Regions from separate parts of the Homo sapiens genome. Here all the other regions are linked to region 1. Evidence: promoter capture Hi-C in 16 types of primary human blood cells and fetal thymus (Javierre and others, 2016). All regions are on one chromosome and are shown on one strand. Each heading gives the region's core, a stretch centred on a gene start or on the middle of the fragment in contact. The rest is flanking DNA. Distances are from core to core; before and after follow the strand shown.

Region 1 (2,700 bases), core at 124-2,623:
GGCTGAGGCAGGAGAATCGCTTGAACCGGGGAGGCAGAGGTTGCAGTGAGCCGAGATCATGCCATTGCACTCCAGCCTGGGCAAGAGTGCAAGACTCTGTCTCAAAAAAAAAAAAATTTAAGTTAGCGTATAATTTTAGGGGATCAGCAATATCCTGAAGCTTATCCATAGCCCGTTAAGTAATGTTTCAAAGGGCTATCTGTGCCTTAATGATAGGAGCTAGTTTCTTGTTCATTTTTTTATCCCCATCCCCAAACACATAGCAGAAAATAAATTATTTCCTTGTATGTAGAACGGACTCAGCTAAGTTTATTATATTCTCCCCGGAGGAGGGAAAACACAAAACAAGGCACAAAGGCAGAAGGTGCAGATGTAGCACAACGATGAGTTAAGATTCCGCACGCAGGTAACAAGGAGGGTATGGTATATCTCTGCCAGAGGTACTGGAAGGTTTCAAAGGCAGAAAAAAATGTGTTCCGGACACCTGGACGCAGAATTGGAGGCATGACAGGAACACAGGGAGGCCCATCTAAGTTGCCTATTCACCCAGGTGACCTCTCTTTCATTTCTTTAATTGTCCTTTTAACAATATGGGGAATTTCACCCAAGGAAAGGGTCCTCTTCTCGCCCCAGCAGGCAAGGGGTGTTCCTCCAGCGCAAGTTCCGGCCCCAGCTGCCCCCACGTCCCACAGGTCTCCTGCCTTTTGGCACGCACACTCCTGACCACTCGCTGCTTCCGCATCCCTACTCTGATCCTCTCCCCATGCATCTCTGCCTCCTTAGACAACTGAGAATTTTATTGTCTGTTTCCTTTGCCAGACTGTAAGTTCCACGAGGGCAGGGCCTCGTCCATTTCATTTACCACTACATCCCCAGTATAGAGCAAGAGCCCATGAAAATGTTTGTTGGAGAAATGAATGCATGATGGTGTCGCTGGACAGCTATACCTGGAAAGAAAAAGAGGCACCCCCATCAAACAAGCTGGGAGCTAAGAAGCCCGCTGGGAGACGACAAGGGCGAGCTTCTTGCGAGGTTTCTGAAATGACAAGACCGGAAGAATGGAGTTGGATCTCTGGGACAAGCGGGAGAGAGAAGCTGAACAGTCAGGCAAGCCTCGGGGAATGACAGCTCCGCGGGGGACGCACTGGTAGGCGGTAGACGTAAGCGGGGTCGGTGGGAAAGTAGACGGTGGGGCGGCGGCATCACACATACGCAAGCGCAGCCTCCGTTTCCTCCGGCGCGCCTGCGCTCGCGTTCACGAGTGGTTGAAGCGGAAATGGCGCCGCGGGGCCGCGCGTCCAGGCGGCGAGCGGAAGTGGGTGTGAGAGCGGAAGTGGCCGGCTAGAGCCGGGGGCTGGGCGGGGACCGGGCTTGTCGGTGAAGCGGCAGTGGCGGCGGCGGCGGCGGCTCGGCAGGCGGGTTCAGGCTTCGGGGGCCAGGTCGGTTGGGTGGGTGGGTGTCTCCACAGTCTGCGTGCGTGGGCCAGCGCGTTCGTCTTACCCTTCCCTCCACCCCGGCCCCTCTCCCCTTCTCCCCTAACCTCCTACCCCACCCAGCCCCACTCAGGGGGCAGCAGGGCCGCTCCCTCCGTCCTTGCCTCCCTTACCCACCCTCACCGGCCCTTGTTTCTCCTTCCCCTGGGGGCAGCCGCCGCCATGATCCTGCTGGAGGTGAACAACCGCATCATCGAGGAGACGCTCGCGCTCAAGTTCGAGAACGCGGCCGCCGGGTGAGCGCGCGCCCGGGGCCGGGGGTGGCGGGGGAAGCAGAGTTGACCCCAGCTAATCCCCAATGTTGTCCAGTCCCCCAGACCTGGAGGAGAGAAATGGGGTGCCTGGCAGGGTGTAGGGGCTGCCCCAGCGGGGTAGACGTGGGAGGCGATTGGGCGCGGCCGGGCGAGGGGCAGAGATGCGTGGGGAGAGGCTCAGAGGAGGGATGCGGAAGCAGCGAGTGGTGAGGGCTGTGCGTGCCAAAGGGCAGGAGACCTGTGGGACGTGGGGGACCCTGGAGCCGGAACTCGCTCCGGAGTAGCCCCCTGCCCTCTGGGGCGAGAAGGGGACCCCTTCCCTGCGTGAAATTCCCCGGCATTGTTCTGAACCCAGAGAGAGCCTGTTTGGAATTGGGTTGGAAGGAGTTTTCAGGAATTCCCAGGACTGGAGGAGGGAAGGAGATGCAGGCCCACATCGCCACCAGCATTCTCGTTCCCCACCCCCATCTCCTTTAAAAGGAGCAGAAGAGAAGACTAAAAGCCGACCCAGTCTTAGAGCCGGAAAAACGCGATCTCTGGTTTCCCTTCCCCGAACCCTTCTGTGAGAGACACTGGGCCATTTTGTTACATATTTTTAAAGCAAAGCCAATTGTCCCTCGCTCCACACCCCTTCCTTATCTCTCCTTTGAGGTTCTAATGCTCTCTCCTCACCCACTAGCCTTTATCTGGTTATCTTGTAAATTCTTACATCAAGACCCTAGGTCTGTGATTTCTTCTGTGGTAGCCCTGGCCCAGTTACACACTTCAAAGACTCCAGAATCTATAAAGTTCTTAGATAACCTGTCTTTACGATTGGACTTTTTAAAAGATGGGCTTAGGGCATCTTTCCAAGGCAGCCTCTCTGCCAAACACAAGAATCAGTAGAAGACAATCTGCTCCTCCAAAGCTGCTTTGCTTTTCTAGTATAATATTTAAAACATGAGCTAAGGATT
Region 2 (2,700 bases), core at 71-2,570, 140 kb before region 1:
GTATGGACCCCGGAGCCCTCTGCTCTGCCCAGAACGCCAAGAAGACATCCTGGACTCTCTCTATGCTCTCAATGGGGTGGCCTTCGAGTTGGACCTCCAGCAGCCAGACCTGGATGGAGCCTGGCCCATGTTCTCAGAGTGAGTGGGTGCAGCCAGGAGAGAAGTCTCTTTTGACACCTGGTCCCATGGCCACCAAGGGTCCCAGGCAAGCCCCAAGCCCTCAGCCTCCAGCCCCATCTGTCTCTGCCTCCTTTTGCTCCATGCCTTTGGATTCTTCTAGCCCTCGATGCTCCCAGTGCAAATTCATGGCATAATGCTGCCTAGAATATGCACTCACTAACGACTTCCTGGGTGGTTGAGGTGGAGGGCTGGAGGATGAATGGATAGCTGGATGCTAGGAGGGAAAGTACGGATGAATGGAGGATGGGATGCATGAGGGTGGGTGGGCAGGAAGGAGGAAGTGTCATGGGATGAATGCGCTAGTGGAAAGATGGGATACCCTCCATCTGAGGACCAAGCCCAACACTGAAGAGAGGCCCAGGGTCCCCCTGCCTCTTTCACTTTCAGGTCACGCTGCTCCAGTTCCACCCAAACCCAGGGAAGGAGACCCAGAAAAAACAAAGATGCCCCAAAGAAGGTGCCTCTGCCCTGCCTTCACTCTGAGTTGCCTCTTCCCCATCTCCTTGGCATCCTCAAGTTGAGTAGAAACTGAGCTTCCCCCTCCGAGTGTACAGAGAGCCCTGACCCTACAGGACAGACAGAGCAAGAGGCCAGTGTGTGGAGCAGGGGACTGGGGAGCTGCAGAGGAGGAGAGGGCTCCTATTCCTGGGGTGGCGGGGACACTGGGAGAGAAAGGGAACTCTAGCACCCTCTGCCGGAGCCACTGGGCCCAGACAAGGAGAAAGTGCTATGAGGGGCGGGCCACTGAAAGCTTCAGGAAACAGATGAGAGGGACACCCTCTGCTGAGTCCCCTGCACTGGACAATTGACACATGACTCAGTTCAGTTCAAGAAGTGACTAAAGACCCAGGTTGCCCGGTTGAATTCCAGCCCCACCCCTTACAAACTGTGGTTCTTGAACAAGTTACTTGTCCTGCCCCATAGGGATATTGTGAGGATGAACGGACACAACTCACATCCAGCACTGCACAGGGCTCCTGGCTACACGCTCCCCGCATGACAGTGTGTGGTCACCGTCGTTGTTATCATCATCCCCCAAGCACATTTTGCACCCCCACCAGCTTCCAGGCACTGGGTACAGATACTATTAGTTCTCTGGTCCGAAAAGTTCAGGGTCTCTTCATGGAGATATACCATAAAAAAAAGCATTGCAATATACAATTTCAGTGTAAGTGACACAGAAATGAACAGAGGAACATGGGAGCACAGAGGCTTCTTGAGAGGTTGCTCTTAGCTGAGTGTCGGTCTAGTCGAGATTTCATCACAACCCTAAAACCGGGTATTATCATTCCCATTTTGCAGATGAAAAAACTGAAACATGACATGTAGTTCGGGAGGAAAAATTAAAGGAAAGGAGTGAGAGGAACTTAGGGGGAACCAGATCAATACCCAAGACCCAGGTGCAGGAGGGAGAAGGATGTGGGCTGCGGGAAGGGACAGAAGGACATCAGGATGTCCCTCACCAGACCAAAGCATGGCGCTCAGATCACCTGGGTGTTGCTAAAAGTCAGATTTGGGGTTTGATAAATCAAAGCTTCCAGTGAGAGGACCTGGTACCTATCTATTTAGCAAGCTGATTAGATTAGCACTGTGGCCTAATCTAATGGCACCAGGTCAGTGAATTGGTGCTGAGAGGGATGACTGGTTTTGGGTCCTCTCCACAGATCCCAGCCGCATATGGAGGGCCTGAAAATGTCCAGATTGAGGACTCACACACCAGTCAAGCCATCTGTCTGCAAGATGCACCCAGTGGACAGCAGCTGGCAGGGCTTCCCAGGTCCCAGCAACAAAGGCATCTTCCTTTCTTTTTGGAAAAGAAGGGGGAAAGTTCCAGGAAACATAGGTACCCCCAGAGCATGTGGGAGCCAGAAGGGAAGGAGCTTCAGCTAGACCAGGAGGAAAGAGCCCCATGGATTGAGATCTTCCTGGGGAACTCAACACCCAGCACCCAGGGACAGGGGAAGGGGGCTATGGGCACTCAGAAGGAGGTGATAGGGATGGAGGCTGAGGTCACAGGGGTTCTGCTGGTTGCAGAGGGTCAGAGAACAACAGAGGGGACTCACAAAAAGGAAGCAGAGTGGAGTCACGTCCAGAGGCTGCTGATGCCCAGCCCCAGAGGGGCTGTAGAGGGAGCAGTATCAGGGAGCAGGCAGGGGTCGGGGGGCTCTAGCATCCTGGGGGAGCCCTGGGTCCTTCAGGGACACGCAACAAAGGAAGACTCTACCGTGGAGAATCCACAAGTGCAAACAGAAGTGACCCTTGTGGCCAGAAGGGAGGAGCAAGCCGAGGTGTCCCTGCAGGACGAGATCAAGGTGAGAACAGTTGAGCTCCATACCTGGTTATTTGCCCCTGTCTGACCTGGCCCACAGATGAGGGTCTGCAATGGTAGCCTGGGACCATTCCCTCCCACGGGTCAATTTTTATTGGCCCACTCAGGATTATTATTTGGGGATGCCTTTGAAAGCCATACATTCTTCAGGTCCCCACAGTCCCCGCCTCTCCCTATTGCCCCACGCTAGA
Region 3 (2,700 bases), core at 171-2,670, 170 kb before region 1:
AACAGCGTATAAGCGTTCCTTTTTCTCTGCAACCTTGCCAGCATCTTTTATTTTTTGTCTTTTTTGGTCTAAAGTGGTATTTCACTGTGGTTTTGATTTGAATTTCTCTAATGATCAGTGATATTGAGCTTTTTTTACACGATTGCTGACCACATGTATGTCTCCTTTTGAAAAGTGTTCATGTCCTTTGCCCACTTTTTAGTGGGGTTGCTTTTTCTTGTAAATTTGTTTAAGTTTTTTATAGATGCTGGATATTAGACCTTCGTCAGATGCATAGTTTGCAAAAATCTTCTCCCATCCTGCAGGTTGTCTGTTCACCCTGTTGATAGTTTCATTTGCTGTGCAGAAACTCTTTAGTTTAATTAGATCCCATTTGTCAATTTTTGCTTTTGTTGCCGTTGCTTTTTGTGTTTTCATCATGAAATCTTTGCTCATTCCTATACCCAGAATGGTATTTCCTAGGTTGTTTTCCAGGGTTTTTATAGTGTTTCTTATGTTTCTGAAGATATTATGGTTTTTGTAAAGATTTATTTGATTCCCTTTATTGTCTCTCTTTATTTTTGGTCTAATAAACTCAGTTACCACTTATCCATCTACTTCTGATTTCTATTTTTTTAATCGGTTATCTTTTCTTCACTTTCTCTTAATCCTTGTACCTTGTAGGATTATGCCTTTTAAAAAAAATCCCTTTAGTGTCATTTTTAGTGGATTTTTGAGAGGAAACAGAGGTAAACATGTTCATTAAATTCTCCATTCTTAATATAAAACGCCTCTGGATTTTTAAAACATGCTTATTTTAAAAATCACATTCAGATTGCTCTGTTATCTCTAGTCCTCAGTTGTTAAATCTCCCATGGGTTAAGTTGGCTGATTGTTGATTCTGGTGGTTGTTAGTTCTTTGTAATATTTAATCATGAATTTATCTTTCGAAGAGCATATTTTCATGTAATCTTGCATTTGCCCTTGATTACAAAGAAATCTACATGGGGGAAGTTTCATGGCTGTACTGGCTGGGGCACTACTGGGTCATATGGTTCACAGCATTTTTTGTTGTTGCTAAATTTCTTGGCCCTGAGTTTCCACACCATTCCAAATGGCAGGTTTGGGACCTCATCATCTGATACTCAGGCTTGGGATTCTAGAATGTTCCTCAAATGACCTTCTTTTTCCCATGGCCTGGGGCAGGCAGCTCACTTGTGGATCATGTCCAGAGTTGGCAGGTGTTTTTGCCTGGGAAAGTCTCTATGTCTCCTTCATCTTTGAAGGATAATTTTGCTGAATATGATATTTGAGGTTGAAAGTTTTTCCTTCAGCACTTTGAATATATCATCTCACTCTCCTGGCCAGTAGAGTTTCCACTAAGAAGTCTGCTGCCAGATGTATTGGAGCCCCTTCATATTTAATTGACTTCTTTTTTTCTTGCTGTTTTAGGTCTTTTTTTTTTTTTAGATGGAGTTTCACTCTTGTTGCCCAGGCTGGAGTGCAATGGCATGAACTCAGCTCACCGCAGCCTCTGCCTCCCAGGTTCAGGCAATTCTCCTGCCTCAGCCTCCCAAGTAGCTGGGATTACAGGCATGCGCCACCACAGCTGGCTAATTTTTTGTATTTTTAGTAGTGACGGGGTTTCTCCCTGTTGGTCAGGCTGGTCTTGAACTCCTGACCTCAGGTGATCCACCCGCCTCAGCCTCCCAAAGTGCTGAGATTACAGGCGTGAGCCACCGTGCCCAGCTAGGTCCTTTCTTTATCTTTGACCTTCTTTATCTTTGAGTTTGATGAATAGATGCCTTGAGATAATCTTATTTGAATTGAATCTGCTTGTGATAGTGACAGGAGACAGACAAATTCCTAGTCAGACAGGGATGGGTCCCTGGTGAAACCTGACCTTCAAATCAAGGACAGTTTAAAGCCTGAAAACCCAGCTGCTAGTTCTAGATAGAGTCCATGACTGGAGTGAGAACTTCTATCCTCATCTCACCCACTCTCTCTTGATTGGCTACTTCTGGATGATGTCTTTTAACCAATCAAAGGTGTTTTTTCCAAAGCCACCCATGGACCAGTCAGCAAGTATTCCTCCATTTTTAGCCCATAAAAATCCCAGACTCAGCCTCACAGATGGCTACCCCACTTTCAGTGTCCGCTCCTGCAGCTGAGAGCTTTTCTTCTGTCACTCAATAAAATTCTTCTCCGCCTTACTCACTCTCCAGTGTCCACATATCTTATTCCTCTTGATCACAGGACAAGAACCCGGAACTCACCAAGCTACAGTAGGCAGGAGTGAAGGAGCTGTGATGCTCCTGGCTGGCTTGATGAGCTACAGATTACAGGGGTGAAAGAGCTGTAACCCTCCCTTCCACTTGCCGAACTGCAGGAGCAAAAGAGCTGTGACACTCCTGGCTAGCTCACCAAACTGTGGGAGGTGGGAATAAGAGCTATAACCCTCCCTCCAGCTCACAGAACTGCAAGAGTGAAAGAAGCCACTGAGTGCCACTCCCTCCTACTCGCCAAACTACAAAATCCACAGCATTTCATGTTCTATGACCTTCTTATAGCTGGATATTCACATCTTTCTCTGTATTACCACACATTTTTTTTGGCCTGGGTTTGGTAGCCAGACAGTGTTATATTTGTCTCTGCTAGATGTTTTAAGATCATAAAAGTATGAGTTTGACCTAAGAACAAATGTACAGATGAGAGTACATG
Region 4 (2,700 bases), core at 83-2,582, 240 kb after region 1:
AAAAACTTATACTTCGTGGGCTGGGCATGGTCGCTCACGTCTGTAATCCCAGCACTTTGGGAGGCCAAGGTGGGTGGATCTCTTGATCCCAGGAGTTCAAGACCAGCCTGGCCAATATGGTGAAACCCCATCTCTACTAAAAATGCAAAAATTAGCTGGGCGTGGTGGTGCATGCCTGTAATCCCAGCTACTTGGGAGGCTGAGACAGCAGAATCACTTGGACCCAGGAGGTGGAGGCTGCAGTGAGCCGAGATTGTGCCACTACACTCCATCCTGGGCAACAGAGTGAGACTGGATCTCAAAAAAAAAAAGAAAAAGAAAAAGAAAAACACACTTCACAAAGCTAGGCAAAGAGCAATATAATAAAGAGCAAATGCTGACTAGTTCATTTATAAAATGCTGAAATCATGATGGCTATTCACCTGAAGAAGAAGTGCTACCAATGTGACTGACAACACTGATGAGCCGGTACGAATGAGGCAGATTTCCTGTCTGGAAAACAGAAGTGGGTATAACTTTTAAGTCTTCATTTGAATAAAAGCAAAACACTGAATATAAATTTATTATCAAAGCTGACATGGCTAAGCTTTGGTATGTGGCATAGTAAGAATCAATTAAAAAATCTGTTCATACCCTTTGACCCAAGAATTCCACCCTCAACTAAGAATTTATTCTAAGGAAATAAGTCAAAAGAAGAGTATATGTATCAAATTATTTACTGTGGCATTATCTGGTGAAAAGCTGGAACCAACAATATATCCAATAATAGCTAACTGGTTAGTATATCAATTCAATATAATAATGTTCAGTTATATAAAAAAACTACATGGATCAGGAACATGTTAACCTTTTTTCCAAACCCATATGAATGCACATAGTAACTATAACTCTATTAAAAAAATGTTACGTTAAGAGTTAGGCATTGGACAATAGAACAAAAATGTTAAAAAGAGTTGCTATGTTGCTGTAGGGATCAGAGTGAACTTTTATATTTTAAAAAATATGATTAAAATATTTTTGGTAAAATAAAGCAAAACTGAAAAAGTGATATTCATGCACTGCAGACAGCACTATAAGGTAAAATTTGGGGAAGGAAGGCCAGGCGTGGTGGCTCACGCCTGTAATCCCAGCACTTTGGGAGGCCAAGGTGGGCAGATCACGAGGTCAGGAGATTGAGACCATCCTGCCTAACACAGTGAAACCCTGTCTCTACTAAAAAAACACAAAAAATTAGCTGGCGGGCGCCTGTAGTCCCAGCTGCTCGGGAGGCTGAGGCAGGAGAATGGCATGAATCCAGGAGGTGGAGCTTGCAGTGAGCTGAGATCGGGCCACTGCACTCCAGCCTGGGCGACAGAGCAAGACTCTGTCTCAAAAAAAAAAAAAAAGAAAAGAAAAGAAAAGAAAAAAAAAATTGGGGGAAGGAATATGGCTATATGTAAACCAGAAACTTAAAATGTTCATAAACTTCGATTTAGTAATTTACTTCTGGAGAATATAAAAGGAGAAATTCTAAAATATAGAAAATGCATGAGCCAAGAGCACACGCCACTGCACTCCAGCCTGGGTGACAGACAGACCTTGCCTAAAAAAAAAAAAAAAAAAAAAAACAACTCTATGTTTGGCCAGGTGCAGTGGCTCAGGCCTGTAATCCCCATACTTTGGGAGGCAGAGATGGGTGGATCCCTCAAGGCCAAGAATTTGAGACTGGCCTAGCCAACATGGTGAAATTGCATCTCTACTAAAAATACAAAAATTAGCTGGGCATAGTGGCTCATGCCTGCAATCCCAGCTACTCAGGTGGCTGAGGCACAAGAATCGCTTGAGCCCAGGAAGTGGAGGAAGTTGCAGTGAGCTGAGATCGTGTCACTGCACTCCAGCCTGGGTGACAGAGCGAGACTCTGTCTCAAAAAAATTAAAAAATAAAATAAAATAAAATAAGGAAAATGCTATAAGCATACAGTTTCCCAACTTATTATCATAGTGAAAAATTAAAAACAACTTAGACAAATACTCAATGTTAGCTAAAAGTTAAATAAGTAGGATATTTATTTGAGGCAATATAGTACAGCCATTAAACATAAGCTTATAAATAACTACTCTTTAAGAAACAGGATAACCTGGGTGTGGCAGTGTGTGCCTCTAGTTCCAGCCATTTGGAAGGCTGAGGCAGGAAAATCCCTTGAGCCCAGGAGTCTGAAGCCAGCCTGGGCAACACAGTGAGACTCTGTCTCTAGAACAAAAAAGCAAATGAAATAAAAACTATACTTACGACTTTTTAAAAAGTATACATGGAGGTGAGAATAACAAAGAAATATGTCAAAGTGCTGAGAGTAATTGTGTTAGGATGGTAGGATCCTGGATAATCAAAATTTGAGGAGAAAAAGCAATTATTTAAGGGGGGAAAAAGGGTTAAAAAAAAAAAAACAGTTCAATGTGCCCTAATTAACATCACCAATTCAATAGTTTTCAGTGAGGAACAACCGTTTTTGGTATTTAATTATAAAGATGATACAGTTATTCAGTGTAACTAAAGGTAATTTTTTCCCCCCGAGATGGAGTTTCGCTCTTGTTGCCCAGGCTGGAGTACAATGGCATAATCTTGGCTCACTGCAACCTCCTCCTCTTCCCAGGTTCAGGTGATTCTCCTGCCTCAGCCTCCCAAATAGCTGGGATTACAGGCGTGTGCCACCACGCCCAGCT
Region 5 (2,700 bases), core at 119-2,618, 140 kb after region 1:
GTCTCCACACACAGGGAGAACACCCGCTAAGCCCCGTAGGGCTGGACTCTACAGGTGGATCACTTGAGCTCAGGAGTTCAAGACCAGCCTGGCCAACATGGTGAAACCCCATCTCTACTAAAAATACAAAAATTAGCCAGGTGTGGTGGCGGGTGCCTGTAGTCCCAGCTACTTGGGAGACTGAGGCAGGAGAATCACTTGAACCTGGCAGGAGGAGGTTGCAGCTGAGATCATGCCACTGCATTCTAGCCTGGGTGACAGAGTGAGACTCTTTCTCAAAAATAATTAAAACAAACAAATAAATAAATAAAAATAATAAAAATAAAAATACAAAAATTAGCTGGGCATGGTGGCACACTCCTGTAGTTCCAGCTACTCAGGAGGCTGAGGTAGGAGAATCACTTGAACCCAGGAGGCAGAGGTTGCAGTGAGCCAAGATGGCGCCACTGCACTCCAGACTGGCAACAGAGTGAGACTCTCTAAAAAAAAAAAAAAAAGCGCCTCACCAGGAATAAGTCCAGTCAAAGAGTTTGCTATGTTGTCATTGTTGTTATCATTATTGTTACATGTATTAGAACTGTAACTTGCAGAGATATTCATGTAGCAGCTAATTGGATAGTGTGCATTTGAGACTCTGTCTGACTTTCGTTCATATCTTCTAAGGTCATTTTTTTTTTTTTGAGACAGATTACAGGCATGTGCCACCACTCCCTGGTAATTTTTGTATTTTTAGTAGAGATGGGTTTCACCATGTTGGCCAGGCTGGATCTCAAACTCCTGGCCTCAAGTGATCCACCTGCCTGGGACTCCCAAAGTGCTGGGATTACAGGTGTGAGCCACCACACCTGGCCTCTTCTAAGGTCATTCTAATGACCCATTTCTTCACTCTGCCTCTTAAGAATATCAAATGTGGGCCAGGCGCGGTGGCTCACACCTGTAATCCCAGCACTCTGGGAGGCTGAGGCAGGAGGATCACGAGCTCAGGAATTCAAGACCAGCCTGGCCAATATGGTGAAACCCCATCTCTACTAAAAATACAAAAATTAGCTGGGCGCGGTGGTGTGCGCCTGTAGTCCCAGCTACTCGGGAGGCTGAGACCTCAAGAAGAATTGCTTGAACCCGGGAGGCAGAGGTTGCAGTGAGATGAGAATGCGCCACTGCACTCCAGCCTGGGTGACAGAGCGAGATTGCGTCTCAAAAAAGAAAAAAATATATATCAAATGCTCCCTCTGCTGGACAACACCTCAAGCTTGTGCTGAGCCCCAAACCTGCAGTGTCAGTTCCCTCCAAGGTCTGGGTGTAGTAAAGTGGGTTGATGGCCCTTTAAGAGGCACTGTCCAGCTCTGGTTGCCATGGAGACAGCTGGACACAGACCGGGTAGAGGCAGGCCCACAGCATGTCCTCCAAGGTTTACTCCACAGGTGGGAAGAGGACTGCTGGGGCTGGAGGCGGGGATCCTCTTCTTTCTTCCCAATCCACCCTCGGGGTAGTCTTAGAGGATTCTGTTCTTGGGTGCTGGGGCCAGGACTGAGGTACCCTGCCTTGCCTCCCTGACCCCTGCCCTTCTCCCCAGGGTCTGCCATCTTAGCCTCTCATCCCTCTGTAGGCTCCAGAGCTAAGGACCACCAGCCCTCGGGTCCGGAGTGTCTGCCACTCCCAGAGGCCAATGCTGAAGCCATCGACTTCCTCAGCTCCCTCCGTGAGCTCAGACAGTGTCGGGGTTGGGGGTGCGGGAGGGGTGCAAGTCTGGAGAGGAGGGAAGAAAGTCCAGTCTCTCTCTCTCTCTCTCTCTCTCTCTCTCTTCCTTGATTCTCCTGGGACTCAGAAAAGGCCTGAGGCCTGTTTGTTGACATTCTTCAAGGGAAGGCCCCCCGGGGACATGGGGACATGGGGCAGGAGTCTTCACCTGTCCGTGCCAGTGAGGAAGGCTGTGGGATGAGGAGGCAGGTGGGGACTGTGGGGACACTGGTGGTCATGGGGTCAGAGGATTGGATTGGGGCCCAGGAGCAGGGGCTTTATCTGTTCCCACGGGCCCCTCACCCCAGACAAGGAGGAGCTACAGATGCTGTTCTTCTCTGAGACGCTGGCCATGGTCTCAGACACCGGGGAGCCTCAGGGAGAGCTGACCATTGAGGTGCAGAGAGGGAAATACCAGGAAAAACTCGGCATGCTGACATACTGCCTCTTCGTGCATGCCTCTAGCCGAGGCTTCTTGGACAAAATGCTCTGCGGAAATTCCCTCCTGGGTAGCGTTCCTACTGCCTGATGCCCGTCACTCTCCCCTTCCTCCAACCCTCCCCTCCACCAATTCCTAGAATCTTTTTTCAGGACCAAGCCCTTGGCTTTGCCTTGGACCAGGACAAGGCACGGGGTGGGAGAGGGATGAGCGAGTTCCTCATGGACTCGGGATGAGGGCACATCTTACCCATCCTGTAGTTTTTCTGGGACCGTATTACACCTAGTCCTCCAGCTGCGCCACCACCTTCCCTTCCTTCAGCCTCTGACCCACATCTCCTGTGACGTCAATGCCTGTGTCCCTGCACCCCAGGCTATCTCTCAGAGAAGCTGGAGCTCATGGAACAGCACAGCCAAGACTTCATCAAGGTACTTCCCAGGGCCCCAGCCTTGACCCAATCCAGGGGAGAGAAGACAGATTTTGACTTAAAAAACAGCAGCAACAACAAACCAAAAAACCTATTA

What was found. Contacts are between HindIII fragments. The CHiCAGO score rates a contact against its expected background, and 5 or more counts as called.
Region 2: a contact is called between a fragment that was not itself captured here and the fragment with the promoter of ARPC2 in region 1, in 1 of 17 cell types (neutrophils). The highest score is 6.9, in neutrophils.
Region 3: a fragment that was not itself captured here is called in contact with the fragment with the promoter of ARPC2 in region 1 in 1 of 17 cell types (neutrophils); the score reaches 5.0 in neutrophils.
Region 4: a fragment that was not itself captured here is called in contact with the fragment with the promoter of ARPC2 in region 1 in 3 of 17 cell types (monocytes, neutrophils and megakaryocytes); the score reaches 7.8 in monocytes.
Region 5: the fragment with the promoter of CATIP here is called in contact with the fragment with the promoter of ARPC2 in region 1 in 14 of 17 cell types (total B cells, monocytes, total CD8 T cells and 11 more); the score reaches 9.3 in total B cells.

The regions. Positions count from the first base shown.
Region 1 is chr2:218,215,816-218,218,515 of GRCh38, forward strand. ARPC2 (actin related protein 2/3 complex subunit 2) reads left to right here and starts at 1,374. Exons shown (of 11, transcript NM_152862.3): 1 at 1,374-1,439; 2 at 1,648-1,729. The coding sequence starts at 1,656. It overlaps LOC101928487 (a long non-coding RNA gene), which reads right to left and starts at 1,371. Exons shown (of 2, transcript XR_923908.2): 1 at 1,213-1,371; 2 at 286-1,036. RefSeq lists an enhancer at 1,383-1,986 and a silencer at 1,508-1,557. The HindIII fragment of the contact is 6,430 bases long and covers 159-2,700 here.
Region 2 is chr2:218,073,249-218,075,948 of GRCh38, forward strand. RUFY4 (RUN and FYVE domain containing 4) reads left to right here. Exons shown (of 13, transcript NM_198483.4): 7 at 1-138; 8 at 568-637; 9 at 1,845-2,492. Among named protein-coding and RNA genes, the nearest start is that of RUFY4, 5.3 kb to the left of the region's middle. RefSeq lists an enhancer at 758-1,052. The HindIII fragment of the contact is 783 bases long and covers 930-1,712 here.
Region 3 is chr2:218,048,078-218,050,777 of GRCh38, forward strand. It overlaps a transcript of RUFY4 not described here. Among named protein-coding and RNA genes, the nearest start is that of RUFY4, 20 kb to the right of the region's middle. The HindIII fragment of the contact is 3,427 bases long and covers 1-2,700 here.
Region 4 is chr2:218,456,670-218,459,369 of GRCh38, forward strand. USP37 (ubiquitin specific peptidase 37) reads right to left here. Exons shown (of 26, transcript NM_020935.3): 24 at 423-492. Among named protein-coding and RNA genes, the nearest start is that of VIL1, 39 kb to the left of the region's middle. The HindIII fragment of the contact is 1,496 bases long and covers 585-2,080 here.
Region 5 is chr2:218,355,489-218,358,188 of GRCh38, forward strand. It overlaps CATIP (ciliogenesis associated TTC17 interacting protein), which reads left to right and starts at 1,369. Exons shown (of 10, transcript NM_198559.2): 1 at 1,369-1,421; 2 at 1,607-1,699; 3 at 2,046-2,246; 4 at 2,549-2,604. The coding sequence starts at 1,397. It overlaps CATIP-AS2 (CATIP antisense RNA 2), which reads right to left and starts at 2,478. Exons shown (of 4, transcript NR_125777.1): 1 at 2,426-2,478. RefSeq lists an enhancer at 1,264-1,775. The HindIII fragment of the contact is 20,732 bases long and covers 1,248-2,700 here.